Linked DNA regions of Homo sapiens: regions 1, 2, 3 and 5 are each linked to region 4. The links are contacts of gene promoters, found by promoter capture Hi-C in blood cells and fetal thymus (Javierre and others, 2016). All regions are on one chromosome and are shown on one strand. Each heading gives the region's core, a stretch centred on a gene start or on the middle of the fragment in contact. The rest is flanking DNA. Distances are from core to core; before and after follow the strand shown.

Evidence for each region. The method cuts DNA at HindIII sites, captures the fragments that hold promoters and counts their contacts. A CHiCAGO score of 5 or more calls a contact.
Region 1: a fragment that was not itself captured here is called in contact with the fragment with the promoter of METTL14 in region 4 in 1 of 17 cell types (total B cells); the score reaches 5.2 in total B cells.
Region 2: a fragment that was not itself captured here is called in contact with the fragment with the promoter of METTL14 in region 4 in 3 of 17 cell types (total CD8 T cells, total B cells and fetal thymus); the score reaches 7.7 in total CD8 T cells.
Region 3: a contact is called between a fragment that was not itself captured here and the fragment with the promoter of METTL14 in region 4, in 1 of 17 cell types (monocytes). The highest score is 5.3, in monocytes.
Region 5: a fragment that was not itself captured here is called in contact with the fragment with the promoter of METTL14 in region 4 in 9 of 17 cell types (total B cells, naive CD8 T cells, monocytes and 6 more); the score reaches 10.0 in total B cells.

The regions. Positions count from the first base shown.
Region 1 is chr4:118,304,143-118,308,918 of GRCh38, forward strand. It overlaps PRSS12 (serine protease 12), which reads right to left. Exons shown (of 13, transcript NM_003619.4): 8 at 4,294-4,435. Among named protein-coding and RNA genes, the nearest start is that of SNORA24, 27 kb to the left of the region's middle. The HindIII fragment of the contact is 3,836 bases long and covers 1-3,617 here.
Region 2 is chr4:118,286,379-118,291,110 of GRCh38, forward strand. All of the region lies in intron 11 of PRSS12 (serine protease 12), which reads right to left. LOC124900766 (a long non-coding RNA gene) reads right to left here. Exons shown (of 2, transcript XR_007058245.1): 1 at 3,322-4,732; 2 at 1,575-2,380. Among named protein-coding and RNA genes, the nearest start is that of SNORA24, 9.6 kb to the left of the region's middle. The HindIII fragment of the contact is 8,460 bases long and covers 1-4,732 here.
Region 3 is chr4:119,006,691-119,011,440 of GRCh38, forward strand. The region is part of intron 1 of SYNPO2 (synaptopodin 2); the gene reads left to right. Among named protein-coding and RNA genes, the nearest start is that of SYNPO2-AS1, 24 kb to the left of the region's middle. The HindIII fragment of the contact is 3,399 bases long and covers 1,773-4,750 here.
Region 4 is chr4:118,683,864-118,688,695 of GRCh38, forward strand. METTL14 (methyltransferase 14, N6-adenosine-methyltransferase non-catalytic subunit) reads left to right here and starts at 1,529. Exons shown (of 11, transcript NM_020961.4): 1 at 1,529-1,737; 2 at 4,060-4,148. The coding sequence starts at 1,672. METTL14-DT (METTL14 divergent transcript) reads right to left here and starts at 1,478. Exons shown (of 7, transcript NR_125930.1): 1 at 1,442-1,478; 2 at 545-604. RefSeq lists enhancers at 1,488-1,747, 1,928-2,067. The HindIII fragment of the contact is 9,570 bases long and covers 1-1,980 here.
Region 5 is chr4:118,266,041-118,270,883 of GRCh38, forward strand. It overlaps LOC124900765 (a long non-coding RNA gene), which reads left to right. Exons shown (of 2, transcript XR_007058244.1): 2 at 411-731. Among named protein-coding and RNA genes, the nearest start is that of SNHG8, 10 kb to the right of the region's middle. The HindIII fragment of the contact is 3,524 bases long and covers 1,137-4,660 here.

The DNA.
Region 1 (4,776 bases), core at 450-2,949, 380 kb before region 4:
TGTATATATGCATACATGTGTATATGTATGTGTGTATGTGTGCATATATGTGTGTGTATATATACATATACACACATATTTTTAAGGCATAATAACATTGAGATTCCGTGGGGGAAGAAAATTTAAAATACAACTTCAAGGAGAAAAAAAAACTGTAAAATTTCTGGTCAAAGAAGTATTTTTTGTTCATGTATTTTTTAAAATGGATAGCTGAATCAAATTACTATATTTATATTTCACTGGATATAATTAAGAGTGGTATAACTGTTTTATATTCAAATGTCATACAAATATACCAGAAATTAAGTCCTTTGCAGCTATTTAAATGTAAAATAGATATCAGATACACTTAATTTTAGATCTCTATTAAAGCAGTGAGAATATACAATTTTTAAAATTTTTTTAAGGATTAATACGCTAACAAACATGTTCAAAAACAATGCTATATTGGAACATATGCTACTGGATCCACATAAAGTGTAAATATAATGGAATTTCCGTCATGACTACTTAGTCTATCTCAATGAATTTAACTGATCTCAACACATTCTCTATCAACAATCTACGAACAATATGCTCATATGCTAGACTTTGTCAGACATTATGTAATGCATCAATAAATAATGCCTTTTACTTTCTGTTCACTTTAAGCATATCTGTATTAGTTACCATTCACATTTCCTTTTTTATTATCTCATTTCTGTCTTTCCCATTATGAAAAGGCTTTCTAATACCATTTTGATTCTCAGTATTTCCAAGGACTAATCCTCATGCATCATAGAACTGGCTGGAGGACAGATCTCTGAAATTCCTATTTATGAGGCTCAAATCTTATAACAGCTTCAAAGTTTCCTGGATTGATTTCTACAAATAAGTCCTTTATTAAAGATTTTTTGTGATTCAAAATAGACATGATGAAAAAAAGATCCTCGGCACTAGTCACATACCTGTTTATAATTTATATATATATATATATATACACACACACACACACATATATATATATACTGAAAATATACATATATGTTCTTATATGAAATCCAATTTCCCTTCAGTGGGAAATTATAAAAATATTCAAGTATATTTAATCAAATAGCTAAACAATTCTCATTTAAATACTATTTGATGGCAAATTGCAGATTATGTTATCCAATTTGTTATAGTAACATTAAATTACTGAATTACTTGTAAGACTATTTAAAATGCAATTATAAAGTCTTTTGATGCTTTTCTTGATTGATAAGTATTACAGAAATATTGAAAGCTGCAACAAACTTTGTTCACTTAATCTAGAGTGTGTTTCTCATCTAAAATCACTTCTTTTTTAGCTTTAATTAGGTATAATCAATATAAAAAATCTTCTTCAGTTTGGACATATGCATGTATCTGTGATACCATTACCACAACCAAGGTGCTAAATATATCCATCACCTCCAAAAATTTCCTTGTGTTCTTTTCTGAGGTTTGTTTGTTTGTTTTGTTATGTTCTGTTTCTGTTTTCATTTGGCTTTGGTAAGAACACAAATAAGATCTATACCCTCAACATATTTTGAAGTATATAGTACCATATTGTTAACTATAGGTACTGTATTGTACGGTAGATCTCTAGAACTTATTCATCTTGCATGACAGGAACTTTATACCCATTGAAAAATAATTTCCCATTTTCTTCTCCTCCCAACCCCTGATAACCACCATTCTATTTCTGCTTCCATAAGTTTGACTATTTTCGATATCTCATATAAGTGGAATCATGTAGTATTTGTCTTTCAGTAACTGTATATATATATACACATACATACCACATTTTCTTCATCCATTCATTTAGGCTGTTTCCACATCTTGGCTATTGCAAATAATGCTGCAATGAACATGGGAGTGCAGATATTTCTTTGACATCCTAATTTCAATTATTTTGGCCATATACCCAGAAATGGGATATCTAGATCATATGGTAGTTCTACTTTTAACTTTTTGAGGAACTGTTTTCCATACTGTTTCCATATTACTTTCCACAGTGGCTGTACCATTCTACATTCCCACCAACAGTGTGCATAAGGGTTTCAGTTTCTCCACATCCTCACCAACACTTGTTATCCTTTGTTGTTTTGACCATAGCCATTCTAACATGAGGCTAAATTCACTTTTGAGTTAAATGTTAAATGGACTAAATGATTGTGTTAGGCCATTCTTCCATTGCCATAAAGAAATACCTGTGACTAGGTAATTGATAAAGAAAAGAGGTTTAATTGGCTCATAGTTCTACAGGCTTTACAGGAAGCATGGGGCTGGCATCTGCTTGGCTTCTGCTGATGCCCAGGGAGTTTTCAATCATGGCAGAAGGTGAAGGGGGAACAGGCAAGTCACACAGCAACAGTAGCAGCAGAAAGCGGGGTGGGAGGGTGCCACACACTTTTAAACAACCAGATCTCATGTGAACTCAGGGCATGAGCTCATTTATCAGCAAGGGATGGCCTAAGCCATTCATGAGGGATCTGCCCCCATGATCCAAACACCTCCTACCAGATCCCACCTCCAATATTATGGATTACATCTCAACATGAGATTTGGGTGGGGACAAATATCCAAACTATATCAATGATGATAAATAAAAAGTAATGAACAATTTAGAAAGAAATCCAAGTAATAACACACGACTACATGTGTGTTGATGATGCTTGATGAATATGCCTAGAAAATTTTTCTCTCCTTAAACTTAGCTGAGACACACAATTTGAAGGTCAACTTTGGTGCCAATCTTCCCCTTTGTATTTCCAAAGGTAATACTAGGTTTCCTGGATCACTTCCACCAAGACAATAAAATTAAAATATGGCCAAGAAACCAGTCTCAAAGAGCAATATCTTTTAATGGCTGATTTTGGGTGAGGAAATGTACTGGGAATGTAATGCAAGAACAAGAATAATTTTTTTTTCAAATGGAAAAAGGAGTGATAGAAACACAGTGAGCAAAAGAAGTTTAAAATTAACCACTGACCAAATTCACTTTCACATCTAATGTAGACTCTCCCTACTTTACTGCCCCATATTTTGAAAATTGAAAATTTATATCACAAATGAAGGATTAATTGGCTGTAGGACAACTGGAATTGCAACTGGGTCCAAAACTGAGCCATAAATTGAAGTAGTATCGAGTAACCAGAAACAACTTTGATTTTGAAGTTTACCCCCAACATGTGAACTTTTATTAAAACAGAAATGCTTTTTAAAATAAACATGTATTCTTTATAGAAAATAACCATATGAAGTGTTCAATATTTAAAATGAACACAGATATATAATTAAGGATATATTTTTAAATCCAAATTACTATTAGTAATCTACTCTGAGCTAGGCAATTTATATACATATTATCTTAAATTTATAACCCTCTGAATTGTAACATTTTCCATATTTTTGTTACTTCAAAATCATTACTTAGGGTGCTTTCACAGTCATTCATGACATATGCAGAGCCAGTAAAATTTTAAATTACCCAGCTGAGGTCTAACCAACAGGAGATGATCTGCCTTCTTTTTTGCTCCTCTCACACTGTAAACAAGTGTCCTTTTCACATTCTATTTAGTGCCATGTTCTTATTGTAACTCACGCCTGAGGGAAGCTTATCTAATGCATGCATTTTCTCTCTAAGTCACACCACAACCTTTCTGCACTTAGGAACACTACACAGCACTTCGGTACTATAAATGGGGGCCATTTTAAACAGTGAAGTCATCAGCAAAGCAAGCACAGAAATGCAAAAAAAAAAAAATTGGCACCACACAGACTGTAAAAGAGGACAACTGTTAACAAGTATGAAAGCTGAAACAAGAAGGGAGAGCAGTGACCTCAGCTCTAGGAGCAATGGCTCAGCATTTGCTAATTCAGTGTCCACAGTGACTTTATAACTATCAAGAAAAATGAGAACCAACAGTAATTTCAATAACTCTAGAGTCCCTTAAAAGGCTACAGTGTTGAAACATCAATCACAGAGAAAAGGTTAACTGACAGAAGCTGATACAAGCTGTATTATGACTAGTCAGAGTTATTAGACTATTTTGTTATTAGATAAAAAGCTACATTTCTTGTGTGACATAATATTTTCTGTGAGTAGAAAAATGTGAATAGGCTCTACTTATTACTTCTTTATAATTCTGGATCAAATCAATATGCTGCCAGTATTTTCAAATGAATGACAGAAGCTCATTTTAAGTAAAAAGTAACTCATTAGATTAAGCATTTAAAAATTCAGATATGCTCATCAGTAACCATCCCAAATAATTAGGTTTTCCTTACTTGTAGCCAAGCTGACGACAGATCACAGCTGCATCCTTATCAGTCCATCCATCATCACAGATTGTTCCCCACTGGCCATTGATAAAAACCTCCACTCGTCCTTCTTTCTTATTTTCTCCATCCATCAGTCTGACAGGAAAACCTAAGTCATGATTCAAAAGTATTAGAACAGCCCAAACATGCAAACTGATTCTAAAGCATGAGCGACTCTACAAAACACAATTGTTCTTTTTAATCAGCTATAAAATCAGATGGGAAATACTTTTTTGAGAGAGAGGAGATATATCAATAAAAATTTTATCCACTTTTGTATGTCTCTTGCAGCCTTGAATTCAAAGTGCTCACCTTGCTCAACCTTGTATCCCCAGACTGTGGAACAGTGCCTGGCATACAGAGGATATGCAATTGCTGTTTGTTGAATGAATGAACAGCATTATAAAACTGTGAATTATTTTATTACACCTTACTTCTAAATAGTAAAAG
Region 2 (4,732 bases), core at 1,551-4,050, 400 kb before region 4:
AATGTTGTTTCTCTCATCCCCTCTATCCTAATATGGCAAAACCTGATTTTGTCCTGATCAAGTCAAAGATCTCCTAGGAGGCTCCTCCTAATCTTCTGCTCTCCTGAAAGCTAGCCAATCCTTTTGAACACTCTCAATGCATATGTAACAGTTTCTAGGACTTAATTAAAGGCTTTTCAAGGGCAAGGACCATGTCATGATCACTATTGTATCCTTAGCACCCAGCAAAGTGCTTGGCACAGAGAAAGCGCTTAATAAATGTATAATGAATGAGTTATTTTGAAAGACATTCATGTCCACATACATACACTCTCATCCCTAACTTACTGAAATTAAAAAGAGATCTTATCAATTACCATATTATAACAAAACTATCAAAAAATGTTTCTATTTCCTATAAAAACCCCATGAAAATCCATGGGGTTCAGATCCACCGTCAGACTTGGGAACCACTGAACCAAAGACTCAAAAGTGTGGGCATAACTCCTGCCCGTACATGCCCAGAACTTCACTGGATGAAGTAAGCATCCTAAGAGATTACTAATAGAAACCAAAATGCAAAAAGCATACATGTTCCATACATACACTGTGTTCCTGGATCAAGTAGATTTTGGCAGGTAAACCCCAGAATTTGTATGCTCACCAATCAGCAGTTTATATTAAACTGAGAATAAAAATATTTACCTAACAAAAAGGCGAACAGTACCATTCTTGTCAAAATGAAGTTGTTAGTTCATATGTATATATGGAATACACACACACACACATCTTTTTTTTCTTTTTTGAGACAAGGGTTCACTCTGTTGCCCAGGCTGGAGCGCAGTGGTGCGATCACGGCTTACTGCGAGCCTTGATCTCCTAGGCTCAAGCCATCCTCCTGCCTTAGCCACTCAAGCAGCCGGGACCACAAGTGCATGCCACCATGCTCACTAATTTTCAAAAATTATTTTTTGTAGAGATAGGGTCTCACTATGTTGCCTTGGTTGGCCTCAAACTCCTGGGCTCAAGCGATCTGCCTGCCTTGGCCTCCTGAAGTGCTGAGATTATAGGTACTGCACCCGGCCAAGTACCTATACTTTTAAAGTTGTCCTAATTTAGGGAAATGTACCAGCTAAACCTAAGCATGGAGTCTCACACTCCTTTAACTCCAATTATTCTTAGAATATATTTTGTGCTTAGAATTTGAAGAGCATCTGACACAAGATTGGAATAGTTTTCCAACCAAATTTTTGTCTTCTAGTGTCACCTCTCCTAGTGGGTATGATTATATGCTTTAGGGATAACACTTTGGCTGAAGTACTCAATATGTGTGTGGACTTCAGAAGTATCTATTATGGTTCTAGGCTTCTCAAGACAACATATAAAGCAATCCTCTTTTGCAATGTATTTTAAGGTCTTTCTAGTTGAACTTTTGTTATTTTGATAGACTTTATTTTATCCAAAAATGCTTCTAAAACAAACATTTCAGGTTTTGGCTGACACATCATTCAGTTGTTTGCTTTGCTGAAATGCCTTCAACTCCCCCTCAAATAAAAATTGGATGAAATTCCCAGACAAGTTTGAGCAAGAGAGGATCTGAGACACAGTAGTTTATTAAAATCCAATGTCCAAGTTTCTCTGAGACTCTGAGGCTAAAGTAAACAACAACAACAACAAATTACTAGAATTAAAAGTAGAATTAATTCAGGTTGCAGGGTCATATTCTTTGTGTTTCTTCTCTACATGGATTCGTCTCTACAGGAAAACAGTATTTTACATCAGGCCATGCACATCTGCTACTACTAAAATCTGTTTTTCCTCTCTGGATGAAACTCAAAAAGTAGTTGACTGAAGTTGTTTATGTAAATGGTTCCAATTGCTTACAGAGAAGTAAACCTCAGTAGAATCTTGCGTTAGCCCTTACACATACACAAATACTATGTGTACTACAGAAATAGTTTTAGCATGATTGGTGATATGTGTATTACCAAAGGCTATGTTCCTAAGAGCTCTGCTCTACCATATACTATGTCATGATGAAACATATATTAGGCATCTGACACACTGTGTTCTTAAAAAGTAAGTCCCATTACCTCTGTGGCCATCTCTCTAATTAGAAATATCTAGTCATTTCTAACAATTTCCAGCTACTATTGCATTTCTAGGGCAAAAAGTCAATGAGATAAAGTCAGGTAAAGTTATATTCTTGAACAAGTCCACTTTGGAGTAAAATTACAGAAATAAGAAAGCCCTTGTTTCAGGTACATTTATTCCTGCAAAATCAGGTTTGTTATCAGAATAAGCAATTAAAAGAAATTAATATTCAGGAATTTTTGTCTCAGTTATATTGCTGCACCACAATAGACACGCAAGGCAATTTCATGGTACTTGTAGTTACAATCTAGAATAGAAAGCAAAAATTAGCAATTTATATTATGTAAGATTCACAAGCCAGTTACAAAAGAACTTAATTTAACAAAGTTTCCAATTCAAATTGCCAACAGGCTACTGCATTCCATGTGTATTGCATTAACATTAAGAAAAATGTGAAAAATGAGATAGCCTTTAAATAGTGATTTACCAACTACTTCAGGTGCGCTTGTTACATTGGCATGGAAATGTGTGAAAGCTATGAGGGAATAAGAGTTGAGTTACGAAAACTTTGCCAGCCTTCACATAAAGCACCCTTAAAGAGACTACTCCACATGAAATGAGTGTAACTGAGGCTAGCGGCATTATGGCATTAATATGGCAGAGTGGAATTATGGCATTTTGATCTCATCCTCATCAGGCCACCATTCCTAGATTATTCTGATACAAAGATTATATAAAAGAGTGACTATGCTATGAAGGCAAACAAATAAACATAAAAAGTTCTAATCCTGTATAATTAAATAACACAAATGGTAATAACGATCTATGCCTTATTGTCCAGAAATGGCTGGTCAAGAACATTGGCCTACATCACTGCAAGAATTAGGTACCAAGGAAGCTCTGATGAACAAGAAATCTTTAGGTATACAGAAGCCCAGTAGTTGATAAAGCAGTGGAAATGTCAAAAGGGGGTGAGGGGAAGCTAATTTCAAAATATGAAATCCCGTTCCCCTACCTATAGGCCTTATATTAAACTAAGGTATCTTTCACCTGGCATCTAAAAGGACAGGAACCTCTCAGAGCCCTACTACATTGCTTCTAGATTACAGTCTCTATTTTGCAAATTTCAGTGTTTCTGATGATGAAAGGAGGATTTGTTTTAAGCAAAAGTCCCTAAATCTAGGAAAACAAAATTTGGAGCTTGTTCTAATCACTAGTAACTAGCTGTATGCCTTTTAATAAACTTACATCAATAAAGATGTGAGCTGTAGCCTCCTTAGGCGCTTCAAACAGGAAGTCTATGAAATCCGGCAAAGGTAAAAGCCAAGTCAGAAGGATATATAACACATTTGCAAAGCAGTTTTTTCCCTACTCACATTAAAAGAATCTTGTATTATAGCCAAAGCATATCAAAATGCTGCATATCATAATCTGCTCCTCTGCTCTTTAATCAACTATTTTTATCTTAAACTGTGCAAATAATGAGAAGAAATTCCAAAGGACATATGGAAGGAATTATCTGTTGATCTCAGTTTGAAAATATCATCATCCTCTAAAAAGCCCAACATTCTTAAATAATTCACTATCTGGCAACTGAGCCACCACTTTCATCATGTAACAATCATTCAGAGTATCTACTATGTGCCAAGTCATACAGTAGACACTTGGTGTATAAACACAAATGAGAAATGAGACGATTACTGACTTTAAGCAATAATCAAGACAGAGCAGGCCAAAGGAGAAATAATGACATGTAAACAAATAAATCCAAAAATAACAACAACAAAAAAAAGAGCCCATCCAGGGAACCCAAAAGTTAAAGTGTTTAACCTCAAGTGCAACTTTTGAGCAATCTTCCTACTTTAATACTTTAAGCCTTGAACTCCTATGACTGTAACTTTTGGCTGAAATTTGAAAGACAAGAAATCTTGAATAACAGGAAGATAACAGATTATTTTGCTTAAATTCAAAGCCCCAAAATAGGCTTCTTCAAGTTCTTTGCAATTTTATACCTTATTCTTCTCCATTAGTAAGTGAAATAAAATAATCCTCAGTTCCCTACTTTCACTAATATAGTCTTCAATTCTTGCCTTTAAACTCCAACATAAAAATAACCAATATTTGTTTTGAATTTTAGAGGTTATAAAATACTTTGACATACTTTGCAGATCATTTGTTTCTCACTGTGGAACATTATTATCTTCATTTTACAGATGTAAAATGACGTAACCTGAGACTCCAAGAGGTTAAATAATTTCTGCAAAGTTAAACAATTAACAATTGGAAGAGCTAGAATTGTAAACCTGGTCTTGGTGGCCAGATCCAAGTCTCCTTCTGTTGTATTGTACCAGGCTCTACTGATTTCTAACAGTCTCTCTACCTTCACTCCCTCCTTTCCTTTTCACCTATTTCTATTATTACAATAATCTTATAACTGGTCTCCCTCCAGTATAAAAGTATAAAATTAGGTCCCTTCCTCACAGTCCCTCCAGTTCCTACTTAAATCATTTGGTAACACAGACCAATTTGCCAGAAAAAGGCATGTAAGTACAAACATATACAAAGATTTTTTTAATATAATGTCAAGCCCATTCACAGACGCCCCCCTAGATTAATAACTTTGCCTTACCCCCTCAGATATATGCCACAAATCTCCAAA
Region 3 (4,750 bases), core at 2,222-4,721, 320 kb after region 4:
TTGTTTATTTCTCTGTTTTCTTTATAACACTTGTAAAATTTAATTTTTTATGGATACATCTGGAAGTAGCTGCTCTAACTTAGCTGTTGAGAGCAAGGATGATCTGTATAGCCAGGGTATTGCAACATGCTGACATGGTCTCTCTCATTACATTTATCTTTCACTCTACGTTTATTAGCAACCAAGTTTTTCTTTGTTTTATGCTTGTAACAATTTTTGTGACCATCCTAAATTACCTCATATTTCTTCAGGTACACTTAATTTGTTGGTTTGTTGCACCTTTATTTTACGGTTGTTTTCATTACATTTCGGGACTTCTAAGGGTTATGGACATCACATTAGGCAATGTACTTGGCTCTTTGTACCAGGTAGAAAGACATGATCTCTAACTTCAAGAGGCTTACAAACAATTCTCTCCCCTCCCCTTCCCTTTCTCTCTTCTCTCTCTGTCTCTCACACACACACACGCACACACACACACAAGAATGAGGAGACTGAAAATTCCCAAAACAAAAAAGAACAAAGGTATATATATATATATATATATATATATATGTATATACATATATATATATATATATATATGTATATACATATATATATATATGTATATACACGCACATATAGGCATACTCTATTTTACCACTAACTTTTTTAAAAACTGGAAGGCATGGGAGAAAAAGATCATCCTGAAATGTTAAAAACAAAAACAAAAAACAAACAAAAAAAAAACATAAAACAAAATGATCGGATAGTTTGACTTTAAAATTATTGACCTAGAAGCACATAAAGTACTTACTTAGATTTATGTCTATAAGCCTTATATATGGCATGATCGTATGCTTATATGGCATAAATCAAACCTATATTTCATAATACTCTGTTCATCATTTATCAGCCAACAACTTCACTCTTGGGAACCAAATCCACATTGCACTCATCAGCGGCACCAGAGTCAAGCCACCTTGGCCTTGGTCTTCATGTTTATGTCTTAGCTCCTAGTGCCAGGAGTGTCATGCCACATTTCCTACAATCACATCCTTTCCTATTTTAATATGGATTTTAATGTTTTTTTAACCACTGATATTGGCGAACCGACAAAACATTTACTTATACACTTATATGTGAACAACATCATCTCATACCTTTGCTGCATGTATTTTGTTTTAAGGAATATGAACATGTCAAGTGTATATGTGTTAATAGAGGAATATATGAGAATGGATCACACATGTAGACTCATGAAGAATTTGTAAGGTACATTATTATAAGATACATTATTATTTTCCAGAGGAGGAAGGGAATACAGACAAATAAATGAAACACAAATGGGAGACTAAATTTTGCAGCAGAGAGTGCAACAGCTTTCCATTTCTGAGAGGCTTTGTTCAGGAACTCGGCCATATTCATCTTCATAGATTTCATAGATTTCATAGTACAGTAACTTGCACATATTAGGTGCTTAATACTTACTTGTTGGATTAAGTCAATCCTGATGAGTTTAGTGCCCTTCTCACTGTGGGTACTGGTGATTATCTGTGATTATCAAGACATGTCATATATCCAGTCTTTTAAGATGGGAGTCCAATTGCCAGTTCTTCCTGGGTCTATCCTGGGAAAAGCAAGCCTAGAACACTGCCTGCTGCTGGAGGTACTCAGTACTAAGTGAATGAATGAATACCTTCAAAACTGAGGTGAAATGAGCAGTGGACATTTGCGAGCACACTGGTTTAAATTGCACAGGCTTTTTTTTTTTTTTCCTTGGCAAAGCAAGCTTTGAATGAAATGTCTTAGCAAATATAAGTGAGATTAAATAGTAACAGAAATTATGATATGTTATTATAAAAGATGAATGCCAGAACATTTATTTGAAAAGAAAGAGTAGGTGTTTGATGTTTTCATTGAAATCCAAATGGTTTTGTAGCAAGATGAGGAGACTCAACATTACTTACATTTTGTTTTACAAACAATTTTTAAGATTATAAAAGTTCATCTCAAGAAATTAACATTTATTTCCTTTAAAAGCATAATTTATATATGATACTGTGTAGTTGCTTGGGTTAAGTAAAATTTTTTTTTTGCTGAACTTTAACTCTTACTAAACATTTTAATATATTTATGTGCCATTTAATTGCTCCATTTCCTTCAAATATTAGAAGATGCCATATTATTTACAACTAATTTAATTAATGTGGAGATCGTTTTTTCTATAAAGCAAGCACTTAGTAATTTCATCTCTTTGCTTCAGGTTTATGTAATAATAGAGAGGAAATGGAAATTTCATCATATTTGGTTTCAAATGAAAATCAGGAACAAATGAAAACCTCTTGTCTTCAGCATGTTAAATTTTGTGATCAGGTAGAGAATTAATAAAAATTATAGTTAAGATAAACCAGAATTTCAATGTGTTGTTACATTCCATTGTACATCTAGCACAAATATTATCAAATGCTTCGTAAAGATTTTTGTATGCTTGCAATTGATACAAAATATTTTTGAAGAGCTAATTATTGGCAAGCATGATCTGCCTAGGGATAAAATTGGGCTATAGTTTTTACACATAGGTAGTCAGTTTTCAGCAGCACACCAGCTTACATTAAGTTTGCACTTCTAACCCAGAGAGTCTTGGCTTTGGAACACCTTTGCTTTCAAAACAATAAGAAGCATATAGTTTAAATAAAAGAACATGCCAAAAAATCTTAAAATAATGATCATAGACTTATCTTCTAGTCTCCTTGAAAAATATGATTATTTGAAGCTCAATAGAGTTAATAATATGGTTCCTTGTAGGAAAGTCACTCAGGCACTCAATAAAGATCTGCCTGTTTCACACACACATACACACACACATAAACATAATTGATTGCCCCCCAAAATATTTTCCTAAAGTATTTTATAGAAAATAACACCATGTTCTGTCAAATAATGGAACTCAGAATCACCCGGGGAAGCTCATTAAAAGTGCAGATACCCAGGTTCCCGCTTCTAAGAACTGGCTTCCATGGAAGGCAGGGGAATAAAAGCAGGGTTCTGTACTTTGAAAGTCCTCCCTAAGAAAGCCTGATATTCGCCAGAAGTTATTAACCACCATCTTATAATAGAAGGCCATTAATGGTTTATGAGCTTTTAGTACAGCCCAGTCTCAAACACTAGTGTGTATAGAAATCACCTGGGGATCTCGTTAAAATGAAGATGTTGATTTAGTAAGTCTGGGTTGGGGGCTGAGATTCTGTGCTTCTCACAAGCCTCCAGGTGATTCCATTGCTGATGGTCTGTGAGCCTCACCTTGAGTAGCAAGGATGGGTTTTTCTCCATAACCATTTTGTAAGGTTACACCTGTCAGCTCACCTACATAGTAATTGTTCTGAGTACTCTATTAGATACTATAGTATTCGTGGGAGGTGGCATTGTGTTGTGAAAAAATAGGTCATCCAGTAAGCATTGACTGAGTGTTTACTATGTGTTAGGCTCTATGACTTTGCCTCACTGGCTTCCCTTGCCCCTCTGCATGAGGCTAACATTAATTTGTCTTTTAGGAGTGTATTAGTCTGTTTTCACACTGCTGATAAAGACATACCCGAGACTGGGAATAAAAAGAGGTTTAATTGGACTTACAGTTCCATATGGCTAGGAAGGCCTCAGAATCATGGTGGGAGGCAAAAGGTACTTCTTATGTGGCAGCGGCAAGAGAAAATGAGGAAGATGCAAAAGCAGAAACCCCTGACAAAACCATCAGATACAGTGAGACTTATTCACTACCATGAGAACAATATGGGGGAACTACCCCCATGACTCACATTATTTCCCACCAGGTCCCCCCCACAACATGTGGGAATTATGGTAGTACAATTCAAGATGAGATTTGGGTGGGAACACAGAGCCAAACCATGTCAAGGAGAAACTGTCTCCTTTGAGAAGCCTTGCCTGCTATGTGCTATGTGCTATGCACTTCCATTGTATACTGTGTTCACTTTGATAATATAAATTATCATGTTGGGTTGTAATTATCTACTCTCTTACACATGTTAGAATATGAGACTCTCTAGGGCATTATTCATTATTTCAATTCAGAGCCCATAACACTGTTTGTCACATTAAAGACAATCAGTTAATATATAGTATAATTAACTAATTAATCAAAAGAGGTAACATAAGCAAATCTTTAAGCTACAACTCCATTTCCTTACATAAGTTCAACACAGACCCCTGGCTGAGTGAAGAGAGAGAGTAGCTGAGGGTTCTTGCCTGCCTCTGCAAGGCTCTCCTTAGCTAGCTCTGGCCCAGGATCTTTTTGGCAAGATGGTGACATTCATGCAGGCTCTCCTCAATCTGAAATAAATAGGAGAACTATTAGTCAATCGCAGCAGGGAGCATGACTGGCTTTAAAACGCATTAACAGAACACTTACATGGACACCAAGGGCACTTGGCATGACCCTGATTTCCCTTCTTGAAGTACAGGATTTGGAAATCACTGCCACAGCCCAGTTCAGCTCACGTGGACCTGCCAAGACCAGCAGAGTGCACAGGAGGTCCAGCAGAGTGCACAGGAGGTGCAGCAGCACCTGGGGTAGTGCCTCTGCTCCAGCGCCTCACTCTACTTCGATGCATATGTTTATCTCCATAAATTGCAACCAAGCCTACACAGTGATCATTTTTAAGTTTTACTGATTGCCTTATGACCTTACCTCTCTCATGGGGCCAGAAGAATGATGGCGAAATACAGTGATTGGCAGGAGCAGCTGTGGAGT
Region 4 (4,832 bases), core at 279-2,778:
CTGCATAGCAACTTATCAGGAAAAAGAAAAATCCTCCATTAGACAGTAAACTCATAAAGAAAAACCGACTTTAGTTTTTAATCTTTGACAGACTTTATAGACTCTAGGGCCTATCACAGTGCTTGCCATATAAAATGCTCAATCAATATCAACAGATATTTAAGTGAATAATTGCCTATTCTCACCATTGGTAAAATTTAAATCAGTATTCAACTTAAATGATTGCCAGATAATACAACTGATTTTTAAAGAAATACACTTTAACTCATATGGACATAAATATTTTACAGTATCCAAGTAGTGCTGACATTACTCAAGGAATTGTTTAGGACTACTTGTTCAAAATTGTCTTTCAGACCTAGTTCTTCGGAAATACATTATAATTATTTCTATAAAAGTGGGCATGACTAAGTAGAATCTAGTCTTGCCCACTTTTGGCCCAGCCTGACTCAACTGGTTTTGATCTGGATGACTTAATATTATTTCTGAAAATTAAATCTACTCTGAAAGAACAGACTTATTACTAATTTTGTTAAGTACTTACCGCGATTTCCAATTAAACTTGAGGCAACATGATGTCTTACTCCACTTCCGCCACTGTAGGCTTGAAATAAGATGGCAAGTGTGGTGAATAATAATGGTAATAACTCAAATAAGACTTTGGCCTTTGCTGCCATCCTATGAAGACAGAATCACCACCCCCCAGCCCTCACCCCTCACCCCCGCAATCCGAGTAATTTCAGGAAGCTATTTGTTTCCTTATCCTTGGGTTATTTTCAGTTAAGACAAATGTACAAGCACAAAAAGGAGTCTCTTAGCTTCTGACTCCTAGGACATAAACCAAGACACGCTTTACTATCACATACTCATTTCCCTAAAGGGAAGAAGCCAAAAAATGCATACTATAGTAAAATGGGAAACATTTCAAGGGACAGTAAGGTGTGGGGAAGAGTGGGCAGATGTTGTGGCTGTTACCTGCGTGAAGGTAAATAAAATATTAACAATAACAAGCACTTCTACACCGCTATGTGCAAGGTGCTATTTATCCTTTCAATCACAGCTCTGTGAGGTAGACACTTATGACTCCCATTTTACAGATGACAAAACTGAGGCTCACGAAGGTGGTTAACTAGCCAAGGCCACTCGTCTAGGAAGTGAGAGGCCAAGGTTCAATCCTAGGCAATCTGGCTTAAGTTTGTGTTCTGTTAAAAAAAAAAAAATTAAAGGTTATCTGGCAATTTTTTAAACGTCAGGACTGTCATCTGTGGAATCAATTGAAAAGGGAATCAACACTTCAGAAACTGTAATACACCAAGGGAACCTGCTATCCTGGGAAAGAGAGATAAAGGAGAAGTCAGCTGACTGTCCTCCTTCAGACTAGCTCAGACCACCCCAACCTGCGAGGGCCCTGGAGACCCCTGTGGCGCAACAGATCCCTTACTGGGTCCCTTCCAAGTGGCGTCACATAGCAAGCGTCCAGAAGGAGGCGGGACTTCCGGGCCAAGCGAGCCAATTCCGGCCGCGCCGGAAGTCTCTACTGAGGAAAGCTATGAGGATACTCTGTTCGTAAGCTCCCGGTGAATTTTGTTCCACAGACTCGGAAGAAAGGTTGGATAAGAGTTCACTGGAGATTGACAAGTACTCGGGATAGTGAAAAGCCGGAGTTGGAACATGGATAGCCGCTTGCAGGAGATCCGGGAGCGGCAGAAGTTACGGCGACAGCTCCTCGCGCAGCAGGTCCGCGGCCCTGGTGTCCCCTGTGGGAGGGATCGAGAATGCGAGTGCGCGGCCGCCTCCTCCCTCCACACCCCGCCTTTTTCTGTCCCTTCTCTACCTGCCGCTGTTAAGGCCTTTCTGGTCCTGCGATCTTGATCCCTGGTTCTGCCTTTGTAGTTCTCAATTTTCGCGGTGTCCCGAATGTTTTTCCAGTTCCTTCCGCGGTCTTTGTGGTGCTAAACCGAATGCCAGGATTAGCCTTTAAGCTTTGTGGAACTCCCACCGAGTGTCTGGCATGTTCACGCCAGGATGAGTGTCATGTTATCCCCTACATTTCTCTTCACTATTAAATGGTCATCTATTTCTTTCTTTTCTTCGTCGTCAGCCCCAAATTCTTGAGATTGTGGTTTCATTATGAAATACGTTTACAGTATTTTCTTTGACATCTTTCTGAAGACAACACTGGAAGTAGCCTGAGTGTAAATTTTAGATTCTGCATCTTATATAGAGTATCCTTGTCACATCCACAGTTAATATTTGAAATCTTACTCTGTGTTAGTCACAATAATCTCCTGAAACAGGTATTATTACCTTCACTTATCAAGTAATGAAAAAGGCTCCATACGTTAAGGAATTTTACTCCTGGTCGCTCACTTCTCTGCTGGGAAATAGAACCTAGGTTTGTCTCCCCAAAGCTTGTCTTCTAAACCATTGTCCTTCACTTCTTTCTTGTGTATGAGTAAGTTAACATTTGCTGATTAGTAGAGTGCACATGCAGAAAATACAGATTGTGCACAGTTCTACTTAAAATCGAGGCTGTATTTTCCATTCTACTATTCAGATCAGTAAAAGTGATAGGAGCAATGCTCATAGAGTGTAATTAGTCATCTTGCAGTTATTTTTCAGTAATGAAACTTGGTTTTAGTAAATGGACTTCTGAAACCTATCCTCTTTATGGTCTGATGAACAGATTTGTGGAATATGGCTAAAACCGTGGAAACTTGGAGTCAGATTTGTTCCTTTGTTCCTTATCCCGCTGGCATTACGATCTTGGGCAAATCAAGTATCCTTTCTAAGTCTTCTTTTCGCCAACTTCTTTTATCGTATTATCTTCAAAAATGTTAAGTAGCTCTTTGTTGCTACCACAGAAGACGTTTTACTCCTTAATATTGAATTCAAACTTCTATTTGACTCAATATACATTCATAGGACAATTATTTGTTTAGTGTTTTACACTCAGCAGATGCCAGGGGCTCTACCTTTTAAAGTCTTTTATGAATTGGTTGCACTCTACTTAGCCAGCCTTATAACCATTATTTGTTTACATTTGTTTGTATTTTGCAAAATTTTCCAAACTGCCAAACAAAATTTATGTTACCATTTTAAGGTAGTAAAGTTCAGCCTTGTGTCTATAAATAGTAAGACTTAGCTTGAGTAAAACTGGATCGATTTTTATTAGAGCATAGAATAAATAAGTTATATAAGCTGATGCCTACAAAATGTTTAACATGGTACCCACAACCCTGTGCAAACACTGTCTTATCTGCCTTTTTTAGTTATTGCTATTGCAGGTTGAATATCTCTTATCTGAAATGCTTGGGCCAGAAGTGTTTTGGATTTCAGATTTTTTTCAGGATTTGGAATATTTGCATATTACTTACTGGTTGAGCATGCCAAATACCAAAACTCAAAATCGGAATGCTTCAGTGACCATTTCCTTTGAATGTCATGTCAGTACTCAAAAAGTTCCAGATTTTGGAGCGTTTTGGATTTTGGATTTTCAGATTTGGAATGCTCATTTTATATTAAATCGTGTGTATTGCTTCACAGGAAATTGGCTAAAGTGTCTTATTTTCAAATACAGATGGTTCCAGACTTACTATCATTTGACTTAACAATTGACTTTATGATGGTTTGAGAGTGATAGGCATCCAGGCTGCTCATTGACTTACGGTGGAGTTGTGTTCTGATAAACCCATCATAAGTGGAAAATATTGTAACTTGAAAACACACTTACAACGTTTATTTTGAAACAGATTTACTTTCAACTTACAATGGGTTTATCAGGACATAACCTCATCATAAATCAAGGAGCCGCTGTATAACTGAAAGCATAAAATGTTTTGCCAGCTGTCAAACTCATCTTAATTAATGCGGTTTTTTTCCAGAGTTTTTCCAGTTTGTCTTGCAAGCTGATTAATTCATTGTTTTGTGTGTGTGTGTGTGTGTGTGAATTAAGGTGTTTTTGTTTTTTAAGTATTTAATGTATTAAATGCTGCTACAAATGCCCAGAAAGGCTATCCAGTGCATTGCAATCTAATTTCTGATTTTGTCTTTTCTCAGTTGGGAGCTGAAAGTGCCGACAGCATTGGTGCCGTGTTAAATAGCAAAGATGAGCAGAGAGAAATTGCTGAAACAAGAGAAACTTGCAGGTCAGTCAGATAATTCTTTTTTTTTTTTTTTTTGAGACAGGGTTTCACTCTGTTGCTTAGGCTGGATAGGCTGGAGTACAGTAGCATGATTATGGCTCACTGCAGCCTTGACTCCTGGGCTCAAGTGGTACACCTGCCTTGGCCTCCCAAAGTGCTGAGATTACAGATATGAGCCACTGTGCCGAGGCAGGTGGATCACTTGAGCCCAGGAAGTCGGGAGTTCGAGGCCAGTCTGGCCAACATGGTGAAATCCCATCTCTACTAAAAATACAAAAATTAGCCAGACATGGTGGCGGGCTCCTGTAATCCCCGCTACTCGGGAGCCTTAGGCAGTAGAATTGCTTGAAACCGGGAGGCGGAGATTGTAGTGAGCTGAGCCAAGATTGTGCCACTGCACTGCAGCCTGGGAGACAGAGTGAGACTCCGTCTCAAAAAAAAAAAAAAAATGTGAAAGGATTACTGTTTTAATAAATAACCCTAGGTAGGTATGCAGTGTATTAAGAAAAGCATCAAAATAATGATTTTAGACACAATGGTTTTTATTGTCAGTTCATTAATTATAAAATATTTATTTTCTGAGGATAGTAAGTTCCCATTTGTAAAGTACTTAGAAAATGGAATGTTAGACTAAGAATTAGCATATATACTATAAATAAACAAGTATATTTAAACATTTTTTTGGAA
Region 5 (4,843 bases), core at 1,649-4,148, 420 kb before region 4:
ACCTTTCTGTCTAGCTAAGGGATTGTAAATACACCAATCAGCGCCCTGTGTCTAGCTCAAGGTTTGTAAACACACCAATCAGCACCCTGTGTCTAGCTCAAGGTTTGTAAACACACCAATCAGCACCCTGTGTCTAGCTCAAGGTTTGTAAATGCACCAATCAGTGCTCTGTGTCTAGCTAATCTAGTAGGGACTTGGAGAACTTTTGTGTCTAGCTCAAGGATTGTAAACGCACCAGTCAGCACCCTGTCAAAACGGACCAATCAGCTCTCTGTAAAATGGACCGATCAGCAGGATGTGAGTGGGGCCAGATAAGGGAATAAAAGCAGACTGCCCTAGCCAGCAGTGGCAGCCTGCTTGTTTGGGTCTTCTTCCACGCTGTGGAAGCTTTGTTCTTTTGCTCTTTGCAGTTACTCTTACTGCTGCTCACTCTTTGAGTCCACACTGTGTTTATGAGCTGTAACTCTCACCATGAAGGTCTGCAGCTTCACTCCTGAAACCAGCAAGACCACGAACCCACCAGAAGGAAAAAACAAGCTGCGAGACCAGGAAGAAACTCCGAACACATCCGAACATCAGAAGGAACAAACTCTGCACACGCTGCCTTTAAGAACTGTAACACCCACCGGGAGGGTCCGTGGCTTTGTTCTTGAAGTCAGTGAGACCAAGAACCCACCAAGTCCGGACATAATCCTTTTACAAATTAAATCAAAGCACTTTAATTCCTGCAATAGCTCTACTTTTTATGCTACGGTCCTTATAGTGGCCTGCAAGGCCTTACATGATGTGGTATTCATCACCTTTCTAACCGCAGCTCCTCTTTTCAAACTCTCATTCTGCAACAGTTGCACTGGCTCCCTTGCTGACTATCTTATTTAAGACATTCATGTTAACATGCCCACAAATATCAACGTGGCTAACTTCTACACTGTAGTTCAGTCTTTGCTCAGATGTCATTTTCTCAATAAGGCCTACCCTGACAACCTTACATAAAATTTCACCCCTTCCTCCCTTCCCTGACTCCTGATTCCTATTACTCCGAACTAATCTTTTTTGAACCATAGCACTTAAAATCTTATAACTAATTCTGTAGTTTACCAATTTTATTAGATCTTTTGTCTTCTCCTACTTGAATAAGCTTCTCGAAAGCAAACTATTTGTCTTTTCTTTCATCAATATATCCCCACATCGATGGGTCTAGTCTCTGAAATAATAAGTGCTCAATAAATACTTGTTGAATTAATTTCACAATAAGTAACTGGAAAAGACATGACAGTTTTAACATACATATGTTCTTATATTTAAGTGCTAGAAAAAAGTATAACTTTTCATAAAAATCAATAAATTCGATTAACAAAAATATATATTTCCCCAATCATACAAAGACTTAAAACTGTCTTCTAAATAACAAAAAATAAATTCAATTTTAAATAATAATTAAAATTAGCAAAATAATTATTAAATGTAGGACAAAAAAACAAAACCTCTAACTTTTAAATGATAATTACCAGATAATTCTTATAAGTTATCCTAACAATAATACCAAAAGGAAGATACTGCTGGTTTCCTTCTACAGATGAGGAAACAGGTTTGGAATGGATAGATAATTTTCCCAAGGTCACACAAGTAGCAAAGCTCAGACTTATTTTATACCTAGTATCATTTTTCTCCCTTTACACACAACACCAGTTAAGAGCATGGGCTCTGAGCCAGTGAGACTACATTCAAATCCACTTCAAACCTTAGGTTAATTACATTATTTCTCTGTGCCTCAATCTATTCATCTGTAAATTAGAGACAATAATTGTATAGCGCTCATACAATTGTTAGGATTAAATGAGTTAATGAGCACATAAGTACTCAATAAACATTAGTTATCACCATTACTACTATCTCCCTTAGAGACTGTAAATAATTGTAGTCAGGTGCAGTGGCTCACACCTGTAATCCCAGCACTTTGGAAGGCTGAGGTGAGCAGATCACCTGAAGTCAGGAGTTGGAGACCAGCCTATCCAACATGGCGAAATCCCGTCTCTACTAAAAGTACAAAAATTAGCCAGGCGTGGTGGCGTACGCCTGTAATCCCAGCTACTTGGGAGGCTGGGGCAGGAGAATCACTTGAACTCTGGAGACGGAGGTTGCAGTAAGCCGAAATCTGCCACTGCACTCCAGCCTGAGCGTCAGAACAAGACTCTCAAAAAAAAAAAAAAGATACTGTAAATAATTATTTTCAGAACCCTTTTGTGTTATTTTATATAATTTACTTTCTTAGTCCTTTTCAGTAAGTTCTGTTCAGTGCTATAAAGAATGGTGGGTATTTCAAAATTCGTATGGCTTTTATCAAATTTAAGTCCTCAATTGCAGAGATTTCTTTCTAGACCTTCTGTTTTCTAAGAAATACTGCCCATTTACATAAATTATCATCCTGATAAAAGGGTTTTAAATTAGAGAAATACAAAAGTCACTTATCTGGTTCTATTCTACTTAGTTTTCTATAGTTTTACTTATATAATTAAGAAATAACTACTAACACGTCTTACATATTCAGTTGAAGGTTTTTTTAATGATTGTTCATTTGGAGATGAAATATATTTATTTTTCTCTCTATAGTGTAAGTATGACATTTATTTTAAACTTTTTGTTTGAAATTTTACAAAGATGGCAGAAAACAAATCTATAGACCAATCATATTCCTGAATAAAGAGGCACAATTCTCAACGCAATGTTAGCATGCAGAATCCAGAAACAGGTTACAGGTAGAATACACGGTGACAGAGTGAACTTTAAAGAGTGAATATGGAAAGGCTGGTTGAGCACTGTCCAGGAAGGTGGAAATTAATCTATTCATTTATGACTTTTTAAATAGACCTTTTGAGGGTGTATGATTAGCTACTGTAAAACTCACCCAGGTGAAGTGTACATCTCATAACTGCTGAGTCATTAATGGAATTGAATAGCCATCATGGCGATCTGATGTCAGAAGATCTCTGACACCCAGATAGAAGGCTGATAGACGGGGTTCCTCATGCCCATTTGAAGATAAGCCCTGCCCCCAACCCAGCCCCAGTCAACCATTGATCTGTTTTCTGTCACTGTAAATTTGCCTTTTTTGAACATTTCATATCAATAGATTCATACAGTATGTAGTCTTTTGTGTCTGGCCTCTTTTCACTTAGTGACATGGTTCTGAGTTTCATCTATAGCATGTATCAGCCATAGCATGTTTTTTTAAAAAAACTTTTATGTTAAATTCAGGGGTATATGTGCAAGATGTGCAGGTTTGTTACAAAGGTAAATGTGTTTCATGGGAGTTTGTTGTACAGATTATTTCATCACCCAGGTACTAAGCCTACTACCCAATAGTAATTTTTCCTGATCCTCTCTCTCCTCCCACCCTCCGCCCTCAGGTAGGCCCAGTGTGTACTGTTCTTCTCTATGTGTCTATGTGCTCTCATCATTTAACTTAAATTGGATTTATTCTTATATAGCATCTGAAGTCTTTTATTTTACGTTTTTGATTTTCTATTTTTTTGGAGATGCAGTCTCACTCTGTCACCCAGGCTGCAGTGCAGTGGCACAATCTCGGCTCACTGCAACCTCCACCTCCCAGGTTCAAGTGATTCTCGTGACTCAGCCTCCTGAGTAGCTGGGATTACAGGCACCTGCCACCACGCCTGGCTAATTTTTGTATTTTTTGGTAGAGACAGTGAAGACCTATTCCAGTTATAAATACTAACTAATAGGAATTAGTTTCAAAGTTTGCCATAGAATTTTTCTCTCTGAAATGATTTCCATTATAAAATTTGAAATATAGTCCTATTGCAGCGGGGAGACTTAATTTAAACTTTTTGGCAAAGAGAGAGGTAAGATGTGCCTGAGGCCAAAAGAGTTAGTCGACTTTGCCGTAATATACTAAGCTACATTCAAAAAAGTTTGCCAGTTTTGCTTAAATGTACTACCCTGCATTCATTTTTCCTTCTGTACATTATGTATAATTTCCCAGAATTCTTTTTCACTTTTATCATCCTGGCTTCCTCATTCAACAAACGTTTCATTGAGCATGTTCCAAAGTACTACTGCAGGTAAGATGAATATGACTACATTCTTGCCCTCCAGTAGACTGGGCAGAAATATTTTATTTCTCCAACAGAATCATTGTCTAGTTTGATATACAACACATTAACAGTGTATTAACTACTTCAGACAGTAGGAAATGAATTAAATCTCTAATTGATGAATTCAGTATGTTAAAAATCTGTATATCAAGTTCACATATTAAAAAGGTCTGGTGTATTCCAATGGTATGTTTAGAATATGCATCTGGAGAAAGTTGTTCCTTTCTGGTAGAACCTGAAGTTTTCAATATTCACTGTAGACATTCATCATATAAAACTAGAGTCCAGAGGATAGGCTTTTAGAGATACTAGATATGCTGACATTTTCATGTTATTATCCACATATACATTAATACATGCATGCACAATGAACAAATGTATTTAATTCAAAGGGCTTTAAACACATACCTAAATAATAAGGTAACAAATTCAAAGGGATTTAAACATATACCTAAATAATAGTGTAACAGAGCCATCTAGTGGCCACATAAAAACTGTTGTTTCATGTGATTTTGTTTCGTTCCATCAAGTTTTACATAAACGTAAGCTTATCTTCCCACTAATACAGATATTTATAATGCTTATGGATAATGGGCCAAAGTAATTTGGAGCTGGGGTACTAGAGTAAATGTTTGACATCCTAAGACATCTGTAATCTATATTGTGTGTAGAAAAAGGAGAATTTTAACAAGTGATCATTAAATTTTCAAATTATCTTAATTGATATG